Regions from separate parts of the Homo sapiens genome. Here all the other regions are linked to region 4. The links are contacts of gene promoters, found by promoter capture Hi-C in blood cells and fetal thymus (Javierre and others, 2016). All regions are on one chromosome and are shown on one strand. Each heading gives the region's core, a stretch centred on a gene start or on the middle of the fragment in contact. The rest is flanking DNA. Distances are from core to core; before and after follow the strand shown.

What was found. The method cuts DNA at HindIII sites, captures the fragments that hold promoters and counts their contacts. A CHiCAGO score of 5 or more calls a contact.
Region 1: a contact is called between a fragment that was not itself captured here and the fragment with the promoter of TPMT in region 4, in 2 of 17 cell types (fetal thymus and total CD4 T cells). The highest score is 11.2, in fetal thymus.
Region 2: a fragment that was not itself captured here is called in contact with the fragment with the promoter of TPMT in region 4 in 1 of 17 cell types (fetal thymus); the score reaches 5.6 in fetal thymus.
Region 3: a contact is called between a fragment that was not itself captured here and the fragment with the promoter of TPMT in region 4, in 1 of 17 cell types (total CD4 T cells). The highest score is 5.7, in total CD4 T cells.
Region 5: a contact is called between a fragment that was not itself captured here and the fragment with the promoter of TPMT in region 4, in 1 of 17 cell types (naive CD8 T cells). The highest score is 9.0, in naive CD8 T cells.

Annotation. Positions count from the first base shown.
Region 1 is chr6:20,398,731-20,401,430 of GRCh38, forward strand. LOC124901482 reads right to left here. Exons shown (of 3, transcript XM_047419652.1): 3 at 2,011-2,700. Among named protein-coding and RNA genes, the nearest start is that of E2F3, 1.8 kb to the right of the region's middle. The HindIII fragment of the contact is 1,105 bases long and covers 862-1,966 here.
Region 2 is chr6:16,130,562-16,133,261 of GRCh38, forward strand. MYLIP (myosin regulatory light chain interacting protein) reads left to right here. Exons shown (of 7, transcript NM_013262.4): 2 at 1-186. Among named protein-coding and RNA genes, the nearest start is that of MYLIP, 2.8 kb to the left of the region's middle. RefSeq lists an enhancer at 2,482-2,641. The HindIII fragment of the contact is 407 bases long and covers 1,048-1,454 here.
Region 3 is chr6:20,205,766-20,208,465 of GRCh38, forward strand. All of the region lies in intron 1 of MBOAT1 (membrane bound glycerophospholipid O-acyltransferase 1), which reads right to left. Among named protein-coding and RNA genes, the nearest start is that of MBOAT1, 5.4 kb to the right of the region's middle. RefSeq lists an enhancer at 234-985. The HindIII fragment of the contact is 1,193 bases long and covers 746-1,938 here.
Region 4 is chr6:18,153,806-18,156,505 of GRCh38, forward strand. TPMT (thiopurine S-methyltransferase) reads right to left here and starts at 1,272. Exons shown (of 9, transcript NM_000367.5): 1 at 1,228-1,272. KDM1B (lysine demethylase 1B) reads left to right here and starts at 1,617. Exons shown (of 22, transcript NM_001364614.2): 1 at 1,617-1,766; 2 at 2,078-2,121. RefSeq lists a silencer at 1,318-1,877 and an enhancer at 2,318-2,557. The HindIII fragment of the contact is 1,618 bases long and covers 540-2,157 here.
Region 5 is chr6:20,538,001-20,540,700 of GRCh38, forward strand. All of the region lies in intron 2 of CDKAL1 (CDKAL1 threonylcarbamoyladenosine tRNA methylthiotransferase), which reads left to right. Among named protein-coding and RNA genes, the nearest start is that of CDKAL1, 4.9 kb to the left of the region's middle. The HindIII fragment of the contact is 838 bases long and covers 957-1,794 here.

The DNA.
Region 1 (2,700 bases), core at 164-2,663, 2.2 Mb after region 4:
ATCACACATGTAAGTAGATTCATAAATAGCTGCCACTTATTGGGCATTTGCTATATGCCTGGCACTTTACATGTATTATTGCCTCTTTCCATCAAAACCTAGCAATATGGGTGTCGAAATATGGGTCTCCATTTGACATATAAGAAAACAGACTTTTTTATTTTTATTTTTTGAGACAGAGTCTTGCTCTGTTGCCCAGGCTGGAGTGCAGTGGCATGATCATGGCTCACTGCAACTCCGCCTCCCAGGTCCAAGTGATTCTCCTGCCTCAGCCTCCCGAGTAGCTGGGATTACAGGTGCATGCCACCACGCCTGACTAATTTTTGTATTTTTAGTAGAGAAGGAGTTTCACTATGTTGGCCAGGTTGGTCTTGAACTCCTGACCTCAGGTGATCCGCCCGCCTTGGCTTCCTAAAGTGCTGGGATTACAAGCGTGAGCCACCATGTCCAGCCTAATATTTGTATTTTCAGTAGAGATGGGGTTACACCATGTTTGCCAGGCTGGTCTCAAACTCCTGGCCTCAGGTGATCTGCCCTCCTTGGCCTCCCAAAGTGCTGGGATTACAGGCGTGAGCCACCACCCCTAGCTATATAGCTAGTAAATGGCAGAGCCAGAATTTAAACCCAGATCACTCTGACTCCAAAGCTCATTCTTTCTGCTAAAACATGCTACCTCTTCCACAAATTAATAGCCTACCTTGGATTTCAGCATCTTATCTTCCACTATCTTCTCTCTTTGAACTCTTCTCTCCACCTACTCATCCTAGAGTTCACTAGACATAAAGTGTCAAAACATCTGTTTCTCTACCAAATACCCTATATTAAAAAAACTTGGGTAAGGTAGAATGATAAATATCTGAAAGCTTTCTAAAGCAGAATTGCAGGTGTGGGTCTAGAGTGTGAACACTTGCTTTCTTGTGGCTGTGTCGTATTTATCTTATTGCAATCACTTGTGGGGAGCTCAAGCCAGGATTCTATGCACAGCCCCAGTCCCAGGCTGGTCTCTAATCATAAGGCGCAGGTCTATAATTACTGTGTATGTTGCACCACTCCTCCCTCACAACCCCCACTACTGCCACCAAATGCAAGCTGCCAGTGATGCTCTGCAGATGGTAATATCCAAGTAGTGACAGTACTAGTTTCTTCCACAGGTATATCCATAGAGGAAAGCAACATTGATGGAACAAGAGCAGGGAAGCTGCTGGTATATTACACTTCTAGCTCATGCCCTTTGAGTACCACTTAATCTGCCCTAAAGATAGTGTCACTTCTGGCCAGGCGCGGTGGCTCATGCCTGTAATCCCAGCACTTTGGGAGGCCAAGGGAGGCGGATCTCCTAGGGTCAGGAGTTCAAGACCAGCCTGGCCAACATGATGAAACCCTGTCTCTACTAAAAATACAAAAATTAGCTGGGCGTGGTGGCACGTACCTGTAGTCCCAGCTACTCAGGAAGCTGAGGCAGAAGAATTGCTTGAACCCAGGAGGCAGAGGTTGCAGTGAGCTGAGATCGTGCCATGGCACTCCAGCCTGGGCAACAACAGCAAGACTCTGTCTCAAAAAATAAAGATAGTGTCACCTCTACCAGTGTCGACAAATGTTTAGGGCTATGGATCCTCAACTAGCCTGAATGCAAGACTAAAATATTCCTGAGCCTGGTGCAAGGTTTAATGGAACTTTTAACTCATCTGTTTCAGAAAAGGTAACAAGGCTAAAATATTAAGGAGTCCTAGCCTGATCTGACACATCTTGTCAGGTGTTTCATAGCACTCTGAGTAAGAGTTTTGGGAAATTAATAATAGTAATAAAAATCTTGTGAAAGGGCTCAAGGTGTTGCAATCCTCATCACCTATGAGCACCAATTCTGCAGCTGTTTTGCACGTAACTATAAATTATGATCTAGTCTCTACATACATAACTTCCCCCACATTCCTGCAGGGGTCTCTTTTCCTGCTCAATCTCAGGAGCAAGCTTTAATTTTAAGACCCATGAATACTTGAACAAATTCAGGAGTCAGTTTGACACATCATTTTATATTTTTCTGATGACAATTTCTAGTTTACTTTTTAAAAAAAGACACTATTTTAAAAATACTTTGGGATAGGTTTGAGTCGTTGTGTTTGCTTCCAGTCAGAGAACTTCCTACAAAACTGAAGATATAAAGTGCTGATGCCTGGGCGTGCCTGCGTTCGTTGGGGGCACGACGTCATCGTGGGAAGCGTGTACTTTTTCGGATTACTGCTTGGCGGATTAGAAACCCGTAGATCAGTTCTAGGTTAGCCCTGATTAACTGCCCTGGGTGTTTCTGGGCCAGAGGGAATGTCTGCTGGATTCAAACCAATATCCGTTGTAAGACAAAAGAGTTAATTTGTACTTTACCCCTATCCAGGCTAATAATGAAGGTACCGGGAATGATCTGGAATGTTAACTGGTGCCCGCAATCGCGTCTGCTGAACCTTCTGCCCCCACGATTCTGTCTGCCCACATGCTTCTGTCTATCAGCCCCGGCCTCGGGATCAGCTCTCGCCGCGTCATTGGTTGGATTTCAGGAAGGGAGAAGCCCACGATTTAAAGGGCTCCTTTTGCACCTGCCAGACATCGTCCGCATGGTCCAACTTGCCTTTGGCACGTATCTGGAAAAATCTCCTGCGCTGTTCGTTTATTGCACTGACTGGTCAAAGGAAAGAGTGTTCCCTTAGTCAC
Region 2 (2,700 bases), core at 1-2,500, 2.0 Mb before region 4:
CAGGCGACTGGGAATCATAGAAGTTGACTATTTTGGACTGCAGTTTACGGGTAGCAAAGGTGAAAGTTTATGGCTAAACCTGAGAAACCGGATCTCCCAGCAGATGGATGGGCTAGCCCCTTACAGGCTTAAACTTAGAGTCAAGTTCTTCGTGGAGCCTCATCTCATCTTACAGGAGCAGACTAGGTAAAGTGAGCTAAAATAAACCAATGTCAAATTGACCTTTGGTTCCCTTTAGAAGGGCCGCTGCACCTTCCCAGAGATACTCACAGGCAAGTTTGTTTTGATGCGGAGTTCCATCTTAACTTAGGTTTTCCATGCAGGTCCTTTTGTTGAGGTGGAGGGGGAGCTACCTACTTGGTCTGAGTGCATTTTCCAATCCTTCTTTTAGTTTTTCTTGTCTTTATAAACTTGATGGGTGAGCAGGGTTGAATTCTTACAAACACTTGAGATAAGTGCTACCCCAGGAAAAAAAAAAAAAAAAAAAGAAACCACCCTACCCGAGTGACTGACTTCCTGATAGCAGCATCTAATGCCCGATAGTAACCTCTGCCTCAGCAGTGTTACTATAGGTCATTGCAGACTGTTCTAACAGAAAGCAGGAAACAGTTCCTCTTGGGTTACTTAAACTTGGTCAGTTTCTTCAGCCTAGTGTCAGATTACAGTGTGCAGCCAAGAGCTCTGTTTGACTTCATGCAGAATTTTTAAAGTTTTTAAGTTTCTTGAAAATGTAATTTCATGAACTCTTCTAAGGCTACTGTAACTGAATTCCAACCCACAGATATGTTACACACGATTGGTGAGTATAGATTGAATTTATCTCTCTACGTTGTAAAACACCACCAACAGTGGTAGACAACTGAAGCATGTGGTCTCATTTTTCAAACAAAATATGTTCTCCCCTGGACTGACTCTAATACTTGATTCTCAAGAATGAGCCAAACTAGGAAATTGATATTTAATATTTATTGAAAGGCAGGAGACTTCAATCTTACAGTGGCATATCAAAAAATTAAAAAGGAAAACAGCTACTTTGAAGACATAGCAAGCTTTGGATCTAAGTTCTAATGTTTTTCATAATTCTTTGGCTGAGAAATTTGCCATGCATATGAAAAATGTGATTCTAAAAATTTTAAGTAATGATGAATGAGCATTATCCTTTAAGAGTTTTTTACATGACATTTGCTTGTTTGTTTTACCAAAGGACTGATAAAGACTCATTTTGAAATACTTATCATTTGAATTTGAAATTTCCACTTTGCCTTGTAATCGAGCTTTAAAGGTTGAGGCAGACGTTTAATTTTGTTTCTGAATGAAGATGGTATATTGAGTTCTTGGTACTCCTGAAAATATCTTGCAAAATATTCAAGTGATTGCATGCTTAAGGATGTTTTAGCTGTCTGTATTAATCAGAATAGACTTTTTAAAATTATTATTTAAAGCCGATTTGTGAAAGCTTTGCGCTTCACTGTCATAACTTGCAGTCGAATACAAGATATAACACAACATATTGGAATTTTCATTGTGTAGTCCTATTATGATTTTGTAATTATTTCAAGATCTCTAGATGCAACCCAGTTTTGATGGCACAAAATTATTTTTTAAATCTTCAGAAGCTTGGAGTACCAAATAACTGCATTTAAACAATGGCTGCAGTGATAATAGCATAATACATTTGTTTTATGAATGTATTCAGACTTTATAATTGACTAGTAGATGGTCTCTACCTGTGCTTTCCTGTAATTGGGTTAGTAACTATTATCAAATCAATTTTATTCATGTAAGAAATAGAGACATTTTATGAATTAGAACTTGAATCAAATTTCCTGTCTTGGTCTCTCCTTTATTGATTCAATTGACTTGGACTCTTGAGATTCATAATAGTACTCAAAGAATGTACATACCTAGTTCAACTAGGTAATTTTAATTGATTTTAATTCTTTTTGAAATTGTATGGAAAAGTTAAGTGTGACCTTAACTTTTAACTTGCTTTTAATATGTTGGTGAATTTTACTTGGTTTCATGGGGTTGGCTGAAATACATAACTGACACTTAAGTTTTAATAACTAGATAAAGTGATTTGTAATTAGCATTTGTACCTCTTAATTAGGACATCAGAAGCTGTACTGGGTCCAGTTTACAATTAGCATTGTTTTTACATGCATGAAACTATAGAACAAAAATATGTATGTTTACAAATGCTAGCAAATGAAGCTGGTTCGTAAACTTCTTTGATGTTTAATTATTTGTTGTAAAATACTTATATAAAATGCCATGAATATAAAATAGGTCTGTTTATGTAGTGAGTAAATTTAGCTTTGACAATCCAGTTATGAAAGGTGATTTTTTTATTCTTTTCTAAATCATGAGGGTGCATGTAGTGTAGTATACTGAAAGTATCTAGACAGTTTATTAAATGATGCTGAAATATCCTGGCAGAGTTGTCCTCTGGGGACAATTAAGGTAGCCAAGTTGGGAAGGGCAGTTAACTTATTAGTTCATATCAGATTAGGGAGGCCCTTGTGAGAATGATGGGCAGGAAGGCCTGTTTGTCATAGGACAGCACCAGGGAACCAGGCAGAAGCCCTGTATTGTAGTTTCAGCTCTGCCACCAACTACCAGCCATCCAGACTGCTATGGGCCCAGCTCTACATCCTACTTGAAGGCCTCTGAAGAGATGGTTTCTAAATTTCTCTTAGC
Region 3 (2,700 bases), core at 92-2,591, 2.1 Mb after region 4:
ACCCACCTGCTAACAGCAAGCTCTTCAGAACCACAGAGGAACTTTCCACCACATGAACGTGCAGCTCCAGGAGGGACTGCAAAGCTCAGAGTCAGTCACTGGACACCACCTCATCAGGGCTCTGAGACCCTAGGGGGGCCACCCTACCTGCCCAGACCCCTCCAACTCCTCCCCAACCCTCACTCGCGGCTCGCAAGCTCCACTTCTCAACTTGCATCCACGTGCTGCCCCTAACTTCCTTCTCCCCCTCCTGTGTGACTCATCTTCCCACTGCCTTCCTCCCTCCACTGCTGACCTTCTTCACAAAGCCCACCCTCTGTTCTCATTTTACCATCACGACAGCAAAGCCAAGGTCAGAAGCAGCAGGTCAGAGCTTTTCCAGACCTCCCACTGCTGCTTTGCACTGTTTTCTTTTTCTTTTTTTTTGAGATGGAGTCTCGCTCTGTCACCCAGGCTGGAGTACAGTGGCACAATCTTGGCTTACTGCAACTTCCCCATCCTGGGTTCAAGTGATTCTCTTGCCTCAGCCTCCCGAGTAGCTAGGACTGCAGGCTTGTGCCACCACACCTGGCTAATTTTTGTATTTTTAGTAAAGATGGGGTTTCGCCATGTTGGCCAGGCTGGTCTCAAACTCCTGACCTCAGGTGATCTGGCCGCCTCGGCCTCCCAAAGTGCTGGGATTACAGGCGTGAGCCACCAAGCCCAGCCACTTTGTACTATTTTCCTTCCACTATCCTCATAGGAAAGCTTTCCTCCCTCCAGACTCCCCCACACTCCTAATATTACATGAGAGGATGCATGCAGAGGCATGGGCTGAGTGCATGACAGACAGCAGGCCGGGTCACACCCCCTCTGCTCCCTCTTCCTGCTTTCAGAATCTGCCCACCTCTGGTGACTCCTCCATATTCCTGGACACCTTAGGGACCTCATAGTCTTCTCCACCGCAACTCCCCAAATTCACCTGGGTACCGTCAATGTCAAGAAGGACAATCCATCAAATACAAATACCCCAGTTCCCCTGCTTGCTACACTCAACAGACTTTCACCCCCACCCTCAGGCGCACACCCCGATTTTCATCATCACCCAGAAAGACTTCACTAGAAATCCTTCACTCACATATCCCAGCCCTCCAGCTCTCTCACTTCCTCTGCACCTGCCCTCCACGACCCACCATCGCAAGAAGTTTTCCTCTTCACTCTTACCACCACCAACTACTTGTCAGCATCTTTCAATATCTGAGCTTCTTAACTTCCCAACAACCTTCTCTGAAAATTTCTGTTTCACTTTTGTTTCTGAAAGGAGCTGCTGAAAGAAAAAAAGCACATATTTGTGCATATTCATCCGTCTAAAAATGTATACTTGACAGTAGGTTGATTATACTCAGCAGCTCATTCAATTGACCTTGTCAGTGCTTTCTCAATTTCCCTTAAATACTTCTCTAACCCTGCACTCATCCGCAAAACCCTTGCTTCCTCCTCCATCCCTACTTCCTTCAGTGAGGACCTTCCGTATGCCTTCACAAAATGAAAATCTTTTCACAACTTAAACCCTGCGATGTCCTCCCTTGACTATAGTAATGGCTCTCAAACTTTAGTTGGCATAAGAATCACTCGGGAAGTACCCTCACACCCTGATATTCAAATTCAGCAGGACGGGGCAGGATCCCAGAAACACCCATGGCAGAAGATTCTGATGACAATCCATGCACCATATTTCAGGAGATACGATTATCATGCCAAATCCAGCCCACTGCCTGTTTCTGTGTGGCCTACATGCTACAAATGCATTTTACATTTTAAAGGGTTAAAAAAAATCTAAGGAAGAACATTTCAAGACAGGTGAAAATTCCATGAAATTTAGATGTCAGGATCCATAAATAAAGTTGTATGGGAACTCAAGCCTTGACTACAAAGAGACTTCAAATTAGTTTGGAATTAAGCTTACAAACCCAGCAAGATAACTAACAATATAAGGTAACATTTACCAAGCATCAAATGTAAACAGTAAATTCTACATGAGTCCAGCATGTCCTGTGGGCATCCCTTCTCTGTTCCACGACGGCACCATCTACAAACCTGTGCAGTGCCTACGCAGGTCTGTGAGCATACACAGCCTATATACTTACATGGGCCTTTTGTTTCCTCTAGAGTATATAAGCCCTTGCAGGATGGGGACCTTGATTTTTTTCATCTTTGTATTTCTACCATATGGCCAGGTACCTGGCACTAATAGCATTAAATAAATATTTAATTGATTTAACAATGACTGGAATGTGAGCTGAGCTTTTAATGAAGGACAAGACTTAGATAAGAAGAGAACTGAAGGTTGGGCTTTGCAAGCATGGCCAAGGGAAGCAACCAGGACTGACAGATCCAGGTAGGTAAAGAAACTTTGTAGTCGGCCGGGCGTGGTGGCTCATGCCTGTAATCCCAGCACTTTGGGAGGCCGAGGCAGGCGGATCACAAGGTCAGGAGTTCGAGACCAGCCTGACCAAGATGGTGAAACCCCGCCTCTACTAAAAATACAAAAATTAGCCGGGTATGGTGGCGCGCTCCAGTAATCACAGCTACTCTGGAGACTGAGGCAGGAGAATCACGTGAACCTGGGAGGCGGAGGTTGCACTGAGCCGAGATCGTGCCACTGCACTCCAGCCTGGGTGACAGAGCTAGACTCTGTCTCAAAAAAAAAAAGAAACTTTG
Region 4 (2,700 bases), core at 22-2,521:
CTTAAAAGAGAAGCATAATCTTTATCAGAGTTCCACAGCAGCCTGGAGTAGCACAACTCTATTCCTTTCACACAAACTTGAACTGTCTAACAAAATCATGCACATAACTTAATCATGTCTTAGTTGTTTGTTTTTGAGACAGGGTCTCTCTCTATCCCCCAGGCTGGAGTGCAGTGGTGTAATGACACTTCCGTCTCCAACACTGGGGCTCAAGCGATCCTCTCACTTCAACCTCCTGAGTACCTGGGACTATAAGGGTGCACCACCATGCCTGGCTAATTTTTAAATATTTTGTAGAGACAGGGTCTTGCTATGTTACCCAGGCTGGTCTCAAACTCCTGGGCTCAACGTCTTAGCTGTTCTAACAGTTTCTCAGCATGGACTCCACTTGTATACATCATTTCTAGAGAAATAAAGTTTATTTCTATAATACAAAAAAAGTGCACATTACAAGAATTAAGGAAGGGAAATTTCACAAAAATTTCTGCCCACAAACAAAGTCCTCAAGTTGTTCTAGTCTCCATTCTCACCTTTTCAAAAGCTTCTGCTATAGTTTTGTTTTTAAATTTCATAAAATTGAGAAGAAACTTTCCTAAGGTGCACACATCTTAAAAGAGTATGACTCGGTGAATTTTTTACATATACATACACCTGTGTAACCACCGCAGAGCAAGACAGAATATTTACAGCACCCCAGTTTCCCACATCACCAGGGATCACTCACTATTTGGCAGTACTTATTTTTTCCCAAAAATCACTAATACACCAGGCTGGGGAAAAAACCGAGAGTCCGTTTCTATAAAAAAAAATTTGAAAAATTAGCCAAGCGTGGTGCAGCGAGCCTGTAGTCCCAGTTACCGAGGAGGCTGGGGCGGGAAGATCACTTGAGCCCAGGAGTTCCAGGTTACAGTGAGCTATGATTGTGCCACTGCACGCTAGCATGGGCGACAGAGGGAGACCCTGTCTCTAAAAGAAAAAAGAAAAAAAAATAATTAAAACACACCAGTGCTTTGGAAGCACTTTAAATCCTGGACATTGGATTCAGGTCATTTACTGTCCGACCTCGTTATTCCCAGTTTCCGCTTCTGCCCTGAACCCCACTTCACAGGGCTGATTGCTAGGCTGTCTACGCTTGTAAGAATTCCTGGGAGCCCTAGCACGGGCGCATACACTCCTAGCAAATCGTTCCCTTTCTCACCCGCACCCTCCGCGCCCGAGTGAGCCTACCTCGCTTACAGCTGGTTGCCGGCCATTGCCTCCGCCACCAATGACGTCCCCAGGGGCGGGTACGCCTCCGCTTCCACCTCCGCCACTTCTCCGCGCCCCGCCTCCGCCCGCGCCCCGCCTCCGCCCGCGCCCCGCCTCCGCCCGCGCCCCGCCTCTTTCCCGCGCCCCGCCTCTTTCCCGCGCCCCGCCTCAGTTCCCGCCCCCTCTCCCGGCGCCCCGTCTCCACTCCCGCCCCGTACCTCGTTGCACAGACTCCACCCACTTCCCCAAGCGCCGGGGTTTGCGCAGCGGCGGAAATGGGCAGGGCGGAGCGAGCGCTGCGGCTAAAGCGAAGGCGGGGACCCTACCCATCCCTAGTCCTGTCGGCTCCTCCCACCCCGGGTCACGCCGTGACAGGGGCGGAAGCGGCGGCGGCGGCGGCGGCCGAGAAGAGGCTGGGGCTCGCGGCGCGGCTGCAGCCGTCCTGTGCGCGCGGCGCGCGGCTCCGGAGAGGCGCCCGCAGTCCAGGGCGGCGCGCACCGCCTCGCTGGCGCTCAGAGGTGGGAGGCTCCCCACTCCGGGGGCGTGCGTGGGGGCCGTGGCGGATTTCGGGTGACAGCGTTGCACAAAGCAGCTTGGTTGGGGTGCAAGCCCTCCCTTTCCCCCTGTGCAGCGCCCCTCGCCGTGGTGGGAGGTGGGCGGGTGCCCCAGGGACGGATACCTCCTGCCCCGGATTAAAAGAGGGTGCGGGGTGGGTATCTGTCTGAAGAAGGGGGAATTCCCGGGCTAGGGTGTTGGGGCGTGGGGTCGCCGGGTTCGTCGCGATGTTGCCGGTCGGCTAACCCCCCTACAATGTTTCCTTTCTGTACAGCGGTGCCTTTTCCCCGAGACTCCCGGCACCTCTTCAGCGCAAAGGTGAGCCCCGGGGCAGTTGCTTCTCCGACTTCGAAAAGCTTCCGAAAGCTTCTCGGAAAGCGAGGCGGCTGCAGCTGGCACCGGGAGTTTGGGGCTCCCTCCTGGGGACTGTCAGAGCCGCGGGAGAACCCCACGGTCCTGGAGTAGGAACTCCCTCGCTTGTTCTTCCCGGCCGATAGGGTGCGGCCAGGAGCCCGCACAGCCTTGCAGGTGTTGTAGTAATTCTCTGGCACAGCCACCACGCGTTGAGACTTGATGAGCATTGCCAGGTTGCTGGGGTAACTCCTCTGGGATTGGAGACCTGGAGGAGGGGTGGCCCGATTAGGGTAGCTGTTAGTCAACGGCCGGGCAGCTGACAGGTGAAAGAGGAAGGAAGAGGCCGACCCAGCTGTAGAAAGTTGGGGTTCAGTGATGTGGAAACCAGCCACATAGAAGTCCAGTCTTCCCTTGGGTAAGCCTGCAGGACTCCCCAGTCCACTCCAGTTGGGGAATCCCCCACACCACGTATACACACATAACTCAAGGCTTTGACCAGTTTTGTTTTGTGTTTTTAAATCTATTTTAGTGGCAGAAAGGCGA
Region 5 (2,700 bases), core at 126-2,625, 2.4 Mb after region 4:
ATGCAGCGTTATATTTATCTTTTTTGAGTGAATATCTCCAAATGAAATTGCTGGCTCGAAGGATATACATATGTTTGGTATAATTGTCAGGTTGCCCTCCAGAAGGGGTGTACCAGTTTTTCTGTGCTTTCAGCTAACAGAGTTTTTGTCAGCTTTGTATCAGTGAGGCAGCTGAAAAATAACTTATTGTTTCAATACTTGTTGTTAGTGTGGTTGAGCATTCTTTCCTCTTTTTTTTTTTTTCTTTTCTGGGTATTTGTATTTCTTAAGTGAACTGCCTGTTTTTCCTTTACGCATTGTTTTCTGGAATGTGGTTACTTATTAGTGTCACATTAGATTCTTGCATTGTTTGTACTTTGCCAGTGAGGCAAAGCCATAGTGGGAAGAGCATGGTATTGAGAGGATGCCAAGGTTCTGATTTCTAGCTCTATCAATGTACAAATCCTTTTGCTTCAGTGGACTCCAGCTCTGTAAGATAAGAAGCTTAGCAACTTCTGCTTCTCTAACTCTAATGATATGGGATGTCTATTGCAGTGGATTCCTTTCATTCCTCTTTTTCCTTTCTATTTCTCTTCAGTGGATCCATACACACTTGTATATGGGATGGCAAAATTGTGTAATTAAAAAATATGGCTTTTAATTAATGTTATTTAATTATTCATGATCTGTCAGTAGTTCTTCCGCATTCCAAAGGCACTACCTGGTCCTAGCCTCTCTCATTTAATTATTTCATAGAAGAGTGGTGATAGAAGAAATCCTAGGGGTTGGGCATTTACTTCAGCTTCCCACCCAGTGTAGAATTTCCTGCTGTGTCATAGAAAGACTAGCTAAATTCAACTTAAGCATTGTGTTCATTCATTTAGTCAGTAACTATTGTGTGCCTGCTATGTGTCAGGCATTGTTAGAGGTGTTGTAGAGACAGTACTGAAAAAGAGATGATGCCTTTGTGCTTAACAAGCTTACATTGTAATGAGGAAGATACAATTATATATGTGGTGTCAGGTAGGTAAGCACAATGAAGAAACATGAAACAAAAGCAGGGTTAGAAGCAGTGAAAGTGTGGGCATGCTTGGGCAGCGTGGTTATTTTAGATAAGGTAGTAGGAAAGGCCTCTCCGAGGAGATGTTGTTTGAGTGAAGAAGTGGGTGGGAAGACATACTTATCTGGGGGCTGATATTCTGGCAGAGGAATAGCAATTATGAAGGCTCCCGAGTCAGAAACTAATTTGGCATACTCAGAATATCTATATCCATATATTGCCCGACTGTGTAGTCTGCAGTAAAAGTATTTATTGAGAACCTGCAATGTGCTAGACATAGTTCTAGGCACCTGGGATAAAACAGTGAACACCTCACACGAAAACCTTTACCCTCACGAAGTATGTATTCTAGTAAGATAAACAGTTAAAAAATTATTAAAACATTTTAAGCAGATGATTAAATGCTACAGTTTAAAAAAAGGCAGGAAAGGGGCATAGGAAGAGGGTGTGTGGTGAGGTGGGGGTGTTGGTTGGAAAGTCCTCTCTTGTTACACTTGAGCAAAGTCCTTAAGGGCTTGAGTGAGTGAGCCATTCAGGTGTCTTAAGTAAGAGCATTCCAGGCAAGAATAAGACTGTGAAATGAATGCATATCTAGTGGGTACGAAATAACAAAGCCTGCATGACTGAGGGGAGCGTGGTAGGAAGTGGGGCCAGAGATGCAGCAGGAGGCTGATTATATATGTCATTGCAGATCTTTGTAGTGATTTTGGCTTTTTACTCTGATATGGAATACCACTGGAAGGGTTTGATTGAGAAGCTTGAGATGAACTTAGGTTTTAAAGGGATCCCTGACTTCTGTGCTGAAAATGTTCTTGTAGAGTTTAAGGATAGAAGCAAGGATATTAGGGATTGCAATAATCCAGACAAGAGGTGATGTTGGTTTGGACCAAGAGTGTAACAGTGGGTATGGTCACAAATAGATTCTGAATATATTTTGAAGGTACAGCCAACAGGATGTTGTTGATTGATTGGATTTAGGGTGACAGAAAGAGGGGAGTGCAGGATTTTTGGCCTGAGCAGTAGAAGATTGGGATTGTCTTTTTTTTTTTTTTGAGACAGAGTCTCACTCTGTTGGCCGGGCTGGAGTGCAGTGGTGAGATCTTGGCTCACTGCAACCTCTGCCTCCTGGGCTCAGGCAATTCTCCTGCCTCAGCCTCCCAAGTAGCTGGGGTTACAGGCGCTCGCCACTATGCCTGGCTAATTTTTTGTATTTTTAGTAGAGATGGGGTTTCACCATGTTGGACAGGCTGGTCTTGAACTCCTGACCTTGTGATTCACCCACCTCGGCCTCCCAAAGTGCTGGGATTACAAACATGAGCCACTGCGCCCAGCCAGGATTGCCATTAAATGAAATGGGAGAAGTTGTAAGAGGATCTGGTAAGGTAGGGAGAAGATCAGGAATTCTGTTTCGACTTTGACTTTTTTTTTTTTTGGGATGGTGCTTCGCCCTTTGTCGCCCAGGCTGGAGTGCAGTGGTGCAATCTCAGCTCACTGCAACCTCTGCCTCCTGGGTTCAAGCGGTTCTTCTGTTTCAGTCTCCCGAGTAGGTGGGATTGCAGGTGCCCACCACCATGCCTGGCTAATTTTTGTATTTTTAGTAGAGACGAGGTGTCACCATGTTGGCCAGGCTGACCTCCAACTCCTGACCTCAGGTGATCCAT